Regions from separate parts of the Homo sapiens genome. Here region 1 is linked to region 2. Evidence: promoter capture Hi-C in human tissues and cell types (Jung and others, 2019). All regions are on one chromosome and are shown on one strand. The core of a region is centred on a gene start or on the middle of the fragment in contact, and the rest is flanking DNA. Distances in the headings are between cores, read along the strand shown.

Region 1 (5,183 bases), core at 951-3,450, 100 kb before region 2:
TTATGACATACACAACAGTTATGACATACACAACAAATGAATGAAAAATTTTCAAAGCACCAGCAGACAAATCACTAAACACTAAAATTATGCAACTTATAATTTCTTATGACTCAGAATGTCCAGATCTTATAACTCAGGATAATATTTAAATCAACTCCATCAGCAACATCCAGATGTGTTATTCAAGAAGGAAGAGTTCTCAGAAGATGTAGACTGGTAACTATTCTGCTGATCTTTTAAATTGGCAATACATAACTATGCCCAGAAAAACTCCTCTTAAACGTCCTGAAACAAAGATTGTTCTAAAGACTGCAACCAGAATAACCCATCAAAAGGAATACAGCCAGAATCTACCACTTGGCTGAACAGAATTAACAAGCTCTGTAGGTAGGAGAGCCAGAGTCACAGAGTCTCCCTACTATTTTCCTAACACATCTGTGCTTTCCCGCCTTTAGGCTTTTGAAAAGTCAACCTTTCCAATCCATTTTGTATTTCCTTCTAAACCACAGGCAAGCACAAGTTACACCTCTTCTATAGCAGTATGGTCCCAAAATTTTTTTACCAGGATCAACAAAATACATTTTACACTCAAACCCTCTGAACACCTACACATACTCACCACTAAGACAAAAGTTTCATGATACTATCTTCCCTAATTCTGTTGCGTTTAAAGAAAAAAAAAAAACAAACTTCCTTGAGCAGCGTATCTAGACATGGTCCAGCTTAGAGGCTCTATAAAATTTATACCAATCATTTGGCAGTACCTACCACTGACCTAGTAACTGTGAAATAACTGTGTATGTGTTGTGACCCGTCTTACTTCTCCAGCTATTGTGAGCTGCTTATGGATAAGAATTATCCATAATTCTTTGTAATTACCTCAGCATTTAGCATAGTGCCTGGCACATAATTAGAATTCAATAAATGTTTATTGAATCCTTCCTTGTTACAATGAATAGCTGTTGATGGACATAAGTCTTGTATATTTTTGGTGTTCCGAAGGATTTCCTGATTCCATTCAAAGCCAAAAGCTAGTTGGTGTGGGTGGGGGCACAAAATCTGCTTCCTATTCCTAGACCACAATGCCCCAGAAGACTCTCAGGGTGAGTGAGGAGGCACAGGGCAAGAAAAAAACATTTTTTCTTCTACTACAGGAAAAAAGATAAAATTGGCGAGTGTCACTTTGGTTATCCAAAAGCGACACTGAATCCTTACTATGATTCTGCTGTATCCACAGGACTTTACATAAAAGGGAAAGAAAATTTTTTCTGATGCCCCTAAATGGCGCAGGACTCCACACCGGTGTGGAGAGTCCCGTAATATATCTCCATGGCTCAGGGAATCAGGGCACATCCCATAGGAAACCAATGAGACACCAACTATGATTATACCCCAGATGAGGATGGTGTGGCTGCTGGACATGTCTATAATCATCATCAAAATGGATAATGAAATGAGATTATCCATAGGGGAAACTTGATGAGTCAAGAGGAAAAAGGAATACAAGTCTAGTGTCTGGAGAATTATTCAAGAATAAAATCTGACTAACTTGTAAACTGTCCATGAATCACACTATACAGCTCACTTCTCAGGCTATCCATGTGAAGCGCAAAGCTTTCTAAGCCATCTAGCCACAGGCTCTCCCCTAAGACCACTTCTGTATATTCCACTCTGTGTACAGTCCTCCTCTTTGGCCAACTACACATTTTGACAAGAGACGTCATAGAGCAGTGAGGGAGAAAGGGATAACTGCGTTTCACATATAAGTTCAAAAAACACTTAATAGCACCTACTATGAGTTTGACATAGCGCTAGGTAATGGAACAGTGGTGACCAAGACAGAGAGCCTTCTCTGGAGTTGACAGTTTTATGGGATAAACTTTAACCAAATAATTAGATGAATAATTAACTAATTATGGTAAGTGGCCAAAGGCATATGGAAACCAACTTTGCCTGGTAGCTAGGGAAGGCTTGACAACCACATTGAATCTAGCAGGAAAACAACTAGGTAAATAGCAGAGAGAAGAGCCCAGGGCAGAGGACAGAGCCTCTGTGAAGGCCCAGGGTGCATGATGTCTTAGGTTTAGAGCAACAGGGAGGAGGCCTAAGGAGCTGAGGCAAAACAACAACTGAGGACTTAAAGTGGCACTGGATGAAGTTAGCAAGGTAGGCAGAAGCCAGCCACTGCAGGGCCTTGTGAATCAGTTAAAAATTTTGTAACTTATCTTAAGAGCACTGCATATTATTGATGCATATTAAACTGGGAAGTGATGTAATCTGAATTAGTTAAAAACACAAAATAAAAATGTAACTTTGGCTGCAGTGTGAGCAATGGATTGGAAGGTGGCAAGACAGAGCATGTGAACAGATCAGTTAAGAGGCTCCTGGAGCAACCTGGGGGAGGAATAACATTCAACTGACTTCATGGTAGCAGAAGACCAGAAAACCAGACAGACCGAAGAGGTTGGAAGAAAGATCTGGTGACTAAGAGATGACAGGTATTGCAGCCATATCTCCAATAGCTCACAATACCCATCACCTTAAAGTACAAATTCTTCCTTCTGATTTAAAGAGCTTACATAATTTGATCTCATGTCCTCTCAATTCCCATTTCTCTCCTTCACAAAAAATCCACTCTGGTCTGCTCACTGCCCCTCCAAATCTATGTTCATTCCTGACATTTTTAATCATGTTCTTTCCCCCTCAGAATGCGCAGAACCCTCCCTACCCAAATCTTACTCCTCATCTTTCAAGGTTTGATTAAAATTCCACTGCCCTAATCAAGTCTTCCCTGACTTCTGCAGACTACTCTGAATCATCCCTTATCACTGTATCATACATTTTAGCAAATGATCATATACTTCTCTTTCTTTCATCCACTTTAGGTGCATTTCCCCAAATTAACCACTACATTCTCAAAGGCAGGGGCAAGCCTTTTGCTTTTCCAATATCTTCACCCCCGAGAGCCCAGTCCAAGGCACAGCCATGGAGGCACCCATCAAATATTGAGAGGCTGAGTGAGTGAAAGGGCTGAAGAATATGCTGGACCTGGTGTTTCTCTAGACTACACAGCTGCCCCACCTGGGGCAAGGGAAGATTGATGTCACTGTTGTCATCTGGGATGCTTTTGTTTGGTTTGTGCACAATATCAGGATGGGGAACCAAAGGACTATCTTTAAGCTTTAGTTGGCTCTCTAGTCTGTTTGTTTCAAAAGACAATCTCAAGCATGTGTCTTAGCCACTGGTAGCTGGGAAGAGACATGACTGACTCTCCACACTGGCAGATAGCAATCGGAGAAAAGATGATCCAATTTAGACGAATTCATGCCAACTGAGACTCAGAAACAGAGCCAGAAATACACAGCAGCCAGTGAGCAAACAGCACCTTTTTCCCCAGCTTTATTGAAGTATGATTAACAAACAAAAATTTTATCTGTTTAAGGTGTACAGCATGATGATGTGATATACATATACACTTGGAATGACTACCTTACCTCACATAGCCATGCTCTTTTTGTTGTGGTGAGAACACTTAAGATCTACTCTTTCAGCAAATTTGAAGTATATGGTACGTTTATTGTCAACCGTAGTCACCATGCTGTACAATAGGTCTCTAGAACTTACTCATCATATCACTGAAAGTCTGTACTCTTTAAGCAGCATCTCCCCATTACCCCAGCCCTCCAGCCCCTGGTAACCACCGTTCTACTGTTTTCATGAGTTTGACTCTTTTAGATCCACATGTGATACCATGCAGTATTTGTCTTTCTGTGTCTGGCTTATTTCAATTAGCATAATGTCCTCCAGGTTCACCCATATTGTTGCAAAATGGTAGGATTTCCTTCTTTTTTAAGGCTGAATATTCCATTGTGTGTGTATGTGTGCATACAGCATCTATTTTTAGTCTGTTTTCAGTGACTCTCAGTCACTGTAGTTTTTTAGACCCAAGAGCAGCCAGTTCCTTAATAATTGGCATACTTTTACTGAAATCCATTAATTTCAATCTCATTTACCAAGTTCTACAGGATTCGAAATGGAATTACTGAAGATTTCCCTTCTCCAGACAAAGGAGAAGAAACACCAAACTAGATAACAGAATTTATGGTAATAGCACAAAGAGCAAAATCCATAACCAGGAAGATCAGGTTCTATCATACCTCCATGAGGAAGGACAGTAATCAATTCTATTAAACCAAAAGTATACATTTATTACACAGAACTGTCATCAGAATCTAGATCCTTATTAAATTGAAAATGTGTAGAGTCTAATACATTTTTGTTCACTCGTAGGTCTAACTACAATAGTTAAGTTCAACTCAAAACGAAGAAATGAGTATTTGGCCTTTAACCATAGCAAACATTAATCGAAGACCTTTGCTGTGTTCTTAATAAATGGTATCTTCTATCCTTATTCACAGCTATACACCAGCATAAAACAGAGTAGACTTTTACTTGATGATCTCTTCTGGCTAACATAGTTTAATGCTTTAAAACAATTTATATACAGTGTATTTTTATAGATTGCTATATTCTATAAAGTATGAAGAATATGACTGAAATTCTCAAAAAGACTGAGAAAGAGCTATTACAAAAAGAGCCTTTCAGAATAAGCCTGATCTGAAATGGGCACCCTTGATTCCCAATCTAGCCTCCTGACAAAATTCCAGAAGACTCTGGAATTACTTGTGGATGTGGGCCTTGGGCAGCAAGAGCTTGGGAGAGTCACTCAGCAGCTCTGTTATTTTCCTCATTTGTAAATGAAAGGGCTGAAGTCTGTGGTTCATTTATGGTTTTCTCCCGCAATCGCTGTAGGGTTATTCTGTGCTGCATCACAGGACAGAAGGGAGTGCTGTGGAATTAATAAGCCTGGCAGAGCCCTTTTGCTTTTACTCAGGCTGTACTGGGGAAAGAGAAGGACATAGTAGAACAGCATTTTTCACATGCAGGTTGATCTTTATTTCTACTAAATTAACCCATTTACTCTCTTTTCCATATGTCAGCATAAAATAAAAGCCCAAATTCAATAGTTTTCCTTTTTTTCACATATATTTACTTCTAATCTGGCGCTCTTAGAAATAGACAAGTAGAATAAACTGATACATAGTGAATAAGTAAAAGCCAAGAAACAAGTTTATTTTTCAGAGAACTAGTTTTCTGCAGGTTGTTGAAAACACCAAAAA
Region 2 (4,696 bases), core at 370-2,869:
CCATGTTGGTCAGGCTGGTCTCGAACTCCTGACCTCAGGTGATCAGCCCACCTCGGCCTCCCAAAGTGCTGGGATTACAGGCGTGAGCCACCATGCCCGGCTGAATTTTAGATCATTTTCATCACCTCAAAAAGAAACCCAGTACTCATTAACCGTCACTCTCCTTTCCAGGATCCCTCCATCCCTGCCATTCTTCAACCCTAGCCCTTGGCAACCACTAATGGATTTTTTGGTCTATTTAGATGTGCCTGTTCCAGACACTTCATTATAAATGGAATCATACAATATGTGGCCTATTGTGTCTGGCTTTTTTCACTTCACATAAAGTTTTCAAGGTTCAGACATATTGAAGTGTGTATATCCCTTCATTTTTTTTCATTGCTGAATAATATTTCTTTCCTTTTTTTTTGAGACAGAGTCTTGCTCTGTTGCCCAGGCTGGAGTGCCGTGATCACAGCTCACTTCAGCCTCCAACTCCAGGGCTCAAACGATCCTCCCACCTGGGCCTCCCGAGTGGCTAGGACTACAAGCACCACCACCACACCCAAGTAATTTTTAAATTTTTTGTAACACACCCAACTAATTTTTAATTTTTTTTGTAGAGACTGCATCTTACTATATGGGTCTTCTTCCTTCTTCTTTCTTCTTCCTTCTTCTCCTTCTTCTTCCTTCATCGTTCTTCTTCCTTCTTTCATTCTTCTTCTTCTTTTTTTTTTTTTTAAATACAGTGTCTGGCTCTGTCGCCCAGGCTGGAGTGCAGTGGTACAATCTTGGCTTATTGCAGCCTCTGCCTCCCAGGCCCAAGTGATCCTCTCATGTCAGCCTCCCCAGTAACTGGGATTACAGGCATGTGCCACCACACTCGACTAATTTTTGTATTTTTTTGTAGAGACAGGTTTTGCTATGTTGCCCAGGCTGGTCTCGAACTCTTGGGCTAAAGCAATCCTCCCGCCTCGGCCTCCCAACGTGCTGGGATTACAGGCGTGACCCACCACCCCTGGCCAGTATTTCTTAATTTGTATAGTCCACACTGGTTTATCCATTCATCCAGTAAAGGACATTTGCGTTGTTTCCACTTTTTGACTATTATGAATAATGCTGCTAGGAAAGAACATTTATATACAAGTTTTTGTGTAGTCACTCGTTTTAATTTCTCTTGGGTATGGGAGTGGCCAATATTCTGAAGAACTGCCAAATTTCTTCCCAAAGTAGCTGCACTATTTTACATACTTAGTTTTTGTTTTTCGTTTTTTTTTAAATAAAGAACCTTTAGGGTTTCCTCAGCGTCCCAGAGGAGGGCCTGCTTCCGGCACCCCGCCTTCAGGGCTGCCTCCGCAGAGCACCAAACTCCCGTCCCCGCCATTCCAGGCCCTGGCACTTAGGAGCCAAAACCTCAGGTCAGGCGCACTTTGGGCCTCCAGCCCAGCCCCGCCTCCTCAGCGCTAGCTAGTAGGCAAAAGGAAAACAGCTGCCCCTTAATGAGGCTATGTGGACATCGTAGTTTTTTTTCCAGTCAGTAGCGCAGAGACTGTGATAAGAAAAATCACAATTCCCAGAATGCCGCGGTGCTACGGCAGCCGAAGGGGCCATTCCGTGTGCAGCGCTCCCGCCCACCCTCCGGTCTCGGCGGCTCTCCAGAGCGTCTGTAAACACCCAGAGACTGTCATGGAGGGGGAGGAGGAGGCGGCGGCGGCGAAGGGAGGCGTTTGGGGCCGCCTCCAGGGTCCGCTCTGCCATTCCTGAACTGGTCCCTCGTCCCCGTGACTCTGGCATCAGGGAAGCGAACTGTTAGGCGAGAGGAGGAGGCAGCCAGAACCATATCCCCTTCTTCCTCGGGGCGGGGGCCGGGCCAGGCCGGCTGAGCCGGGGGAGGGCTCCGGGAGGGAGTGCCTGGCCAGGCCGGCCTGTCTGCCGCGATGGATGACAGTAAGGTAAGTCTTGTGGTTTGCACGCGCCGCCGCCTTCTTGTCGCTCAATGCTAGTCCCGCGGCTGAACCTCCGCTATGTAGTCCACGCCAACACCCAAGAGACACCTGCCTAAAACATCCCTGCGCCTCTCCAGTCCACTGCCCGATGGTACCCAGCCAGGAAATCAGGGAACACCGGGGCTGCGTTTTTCCAGGAAGGGCCCTCTCTGGAAATTTTTCACTCCCAGGGCGTTTGCTAGCTTTCCAGGTAGTGCAACCCCTAGTCCTTAACTTGCCTGTCGAGATAAGAAACTACTGTACTTTTTCTTCTTGCACTTTTTTGCTGCCTCCTCTCTCCAGTTTGGAGACTTTAGTGCACGCTGAACCAGCCTTATTCCCCTTGACGATTCCCCTTCTCTCAGGCTCCCTTACTCAATGCCCCATTCATATAATCAGTTCACTCCCCCTCTGAGCTATTTCCTGTGGTTGGTTGGAACACCGCTAAGCTCCTGTTGCTATTTGGCCAGTGTGGAGTTTAACCTCCACTAGAAAGCCTTCTCTAAAAAAATACTGATTTTCCTCTTGTTAACTTTAATAGCCCATCACCATCCAATTTCCCTGTCCAAATCACTTACTTTATGATTATAAAATAATAGATAATGTTCATTATTGGTTAATCCAAATAGTTTATCTATGTATAGCCTTTTTGTCTTTATTTATTAATTGAGACGGAGTTTCGCTCTTGTCGCCCAGGCTGGAGTGCAATGGCGCGATCTCGGCTCACCACAACCTCCGCCTCCCGGGTTCAAGCGATTCTCCTGCCTCAGCCTCCCGAGCAGCTGGGATTACAGGCATGCACCACCATGCCCGGCTAATTTTGTATTTTTGGTAGAGATGGGGTTTCTCCATGTTGGTCAGGCTGGTCTCGAACTCCCAATCTTAGGTGTCCGCTCGCCTCGGCCTCCCAAAGTGCTGGGATTACAGGCGTGAGCCACCGCGCCTGGCCGCCTTTCTCTCTTTACATCTACCCACATTAGTGTTGTTTAGTTTTATTTCCTGAAGATAGGGATGGTCAAAGATTTGTTTATTGATGTTTCAGGTTGTTTTGGATTTGGACTTTTTTATTTTAAGGAATCAGACTTCTAAAATTTGCCAGTTTTTAAAGTAAAAACCGTCCTTCTTTGTGCTTCTCAGCGTCTTCTGTTTCACAGTCTTTGGCATACTCTTTACGATAGCTTTGTCCTTTGTTTGGGTGTCTTTTTTTGCTGCTGCTGCAGTTTTTGTTTCACATATCCTCAGAGAGATTCAAAAAATTTCCAACTTCTCTGTGTTCCTTGTTTTATTCTTTCCTTCTTGTTTTCTCTTCCTCTTCATGTAGAAGGCTGTGAGGAAGTGACAGATGGAAGGGAAAGCCCAGTGCAGTACTCTGGAATTGTTACTCACCTAGAGGAACGGATTGCTTGTGAAGTAGTAAACCCCTCTTAATAGGAAGTGGTATTTCCAAGACAGAAGGGGGGCGAGTTTCAGGAAGCTATCAGCTCATAAGAGTGCTTAATATGCTCAGTACACACATTAATTCCCTTGACAAGAATCTTGCCCTTGTTTGTTTACAACAATGCAACAGAATGCGGGATAACATTGTAGACTCTTCAGTTTTACTATAGTAACATTCGTGGGGTATGATATTGGGGAAGTGGTATTTCCAAGACAGAAGGGTAGCGTTCTAAAAGTTTTCCAGAAAAATCAGCAAGTAATTTTTTTTTTTTTTTGCTTTGAATATTTCTTTGGGGAGGGGACATCACACTTCTTTCTTTTTTCTTTTTTTTCTTTTTTTTTTTTTTTTTTTTGAGACGGAGTCTCCGCTGTATCGCCCAGGCTGGAGTACAGTGGCACGATCTCGGCTCACTGCCGAGAATTGCTCTTGGGTTCAAGCAATTCTCCTGCCTCAGCCTCCTGAGTAGCTGGGACTACAGGCGTGTGCCACCACATCCAGCTAAATTTTTATTTTTCGTAGAGACAGGGTTTCACCATGTTGATCAGGCTGGTCTCAAACTCGAGTGACCTCAGGTGATCCGCCCACCTCAGCCTCCCAAAGTGCTAGGAATACAGGTGTGAGCCACTGCGCCCGGCCAGGACATCACACTTCTACTCAATGAAGATAAACGTTTTTACACCTTTTGTCTTTTTTACCCCTATTATGCCACGAATTCATAGGGAATAAGTTCTAGTAGCTCAGGCTGTTTTCCACTGGTGGAGTAGGCTGGTGCTTCAATTGAACCCAGGTACCTTTCTTATTTAGTTTCCTTTTTTTTTTTTTTTTTTGAAATAGGGTCTTGCACTGTTGCCCAGGCTGGGGTGCGTTGGTGTGATCACAACTCACTGCAGCCTCGAACTCCTGGGCTCAAAGCAATCCTCCACCTCAGCCTCCCAAGTGGCTGGGACTACAGGAATGCACATCCATTCCTAGCTAATTTTTTGCAGAGATGAGGGTCTCACTGGCTTTTTTTTCTGATCATTTTCCTTCACACGTTTCTGGAAGCTGTCAGCTCTTAAGAGTACTTAATATGCTCAATATACACATTAATTCTCTTGGCAAGAATCTTTCCCTTTTTTGTTTACAACAATGCCAACAGAATGCTGGGTAACATTGTAGACTCTTCCAGTTTTGCCATAGTAAGATTTGTAGGGCATTAGTTTTTTTTTTTTTTTTTTGAGATGGAGTCTCTCTCTGTCCCCCAGGCTGGAGTGCAGTGGCACGATCTCAGCTCACTGCAATCTCTACCTCCTGG

The links. The method cuts DNA at HindIII sites, captures the fragments that hold promoters and counts their contacts. A contact is called where the count stands out against the background at its distance.
Region 1: a fragment that was not itself captured here is called in contact with the fragment with the promoter of CREBL2 in region 2 in 4 of the 25 tissues and cell types used here (adrenal gland, hippocampus, mesendoderm cells and 1 more).

Annotation. Positions count from the first base shown.
Region 1 is chr12:12,508,809-12,513,991 of GRCh38, forward strand. The region is part of intron 3 of DUSP16 (dual specificity phosphatase 16); the gene reads right to left. Among named protein-coding and RNA genes, the nearest start is that of DUSP16, 51 kb to the right of the region's middle. The HindIII fragment of the contact is 5,128 bases long and covers 1-4,764 here.
Region 2 is chr12:12,610,257-12,614,952 of GRCh38, forward strand. It overlaps CREBL2 (cAMP responsive element binding protein like 2), which reads left to right and starts at 1,620. Exons shown (of 4, transcript NM_001310.4): 1 at 1,620-1,931. The coding sequence starts at 1,917. It also overlaps the pseudogene RPL21P136. RefSeq lists enhancers at 989-1,740, 1,334-1,413, 1,464-1,513 and a silencer at 1,674-1,973. The HindIII fragment of the contact is 23,854 bases long and covers 1-4,696 here.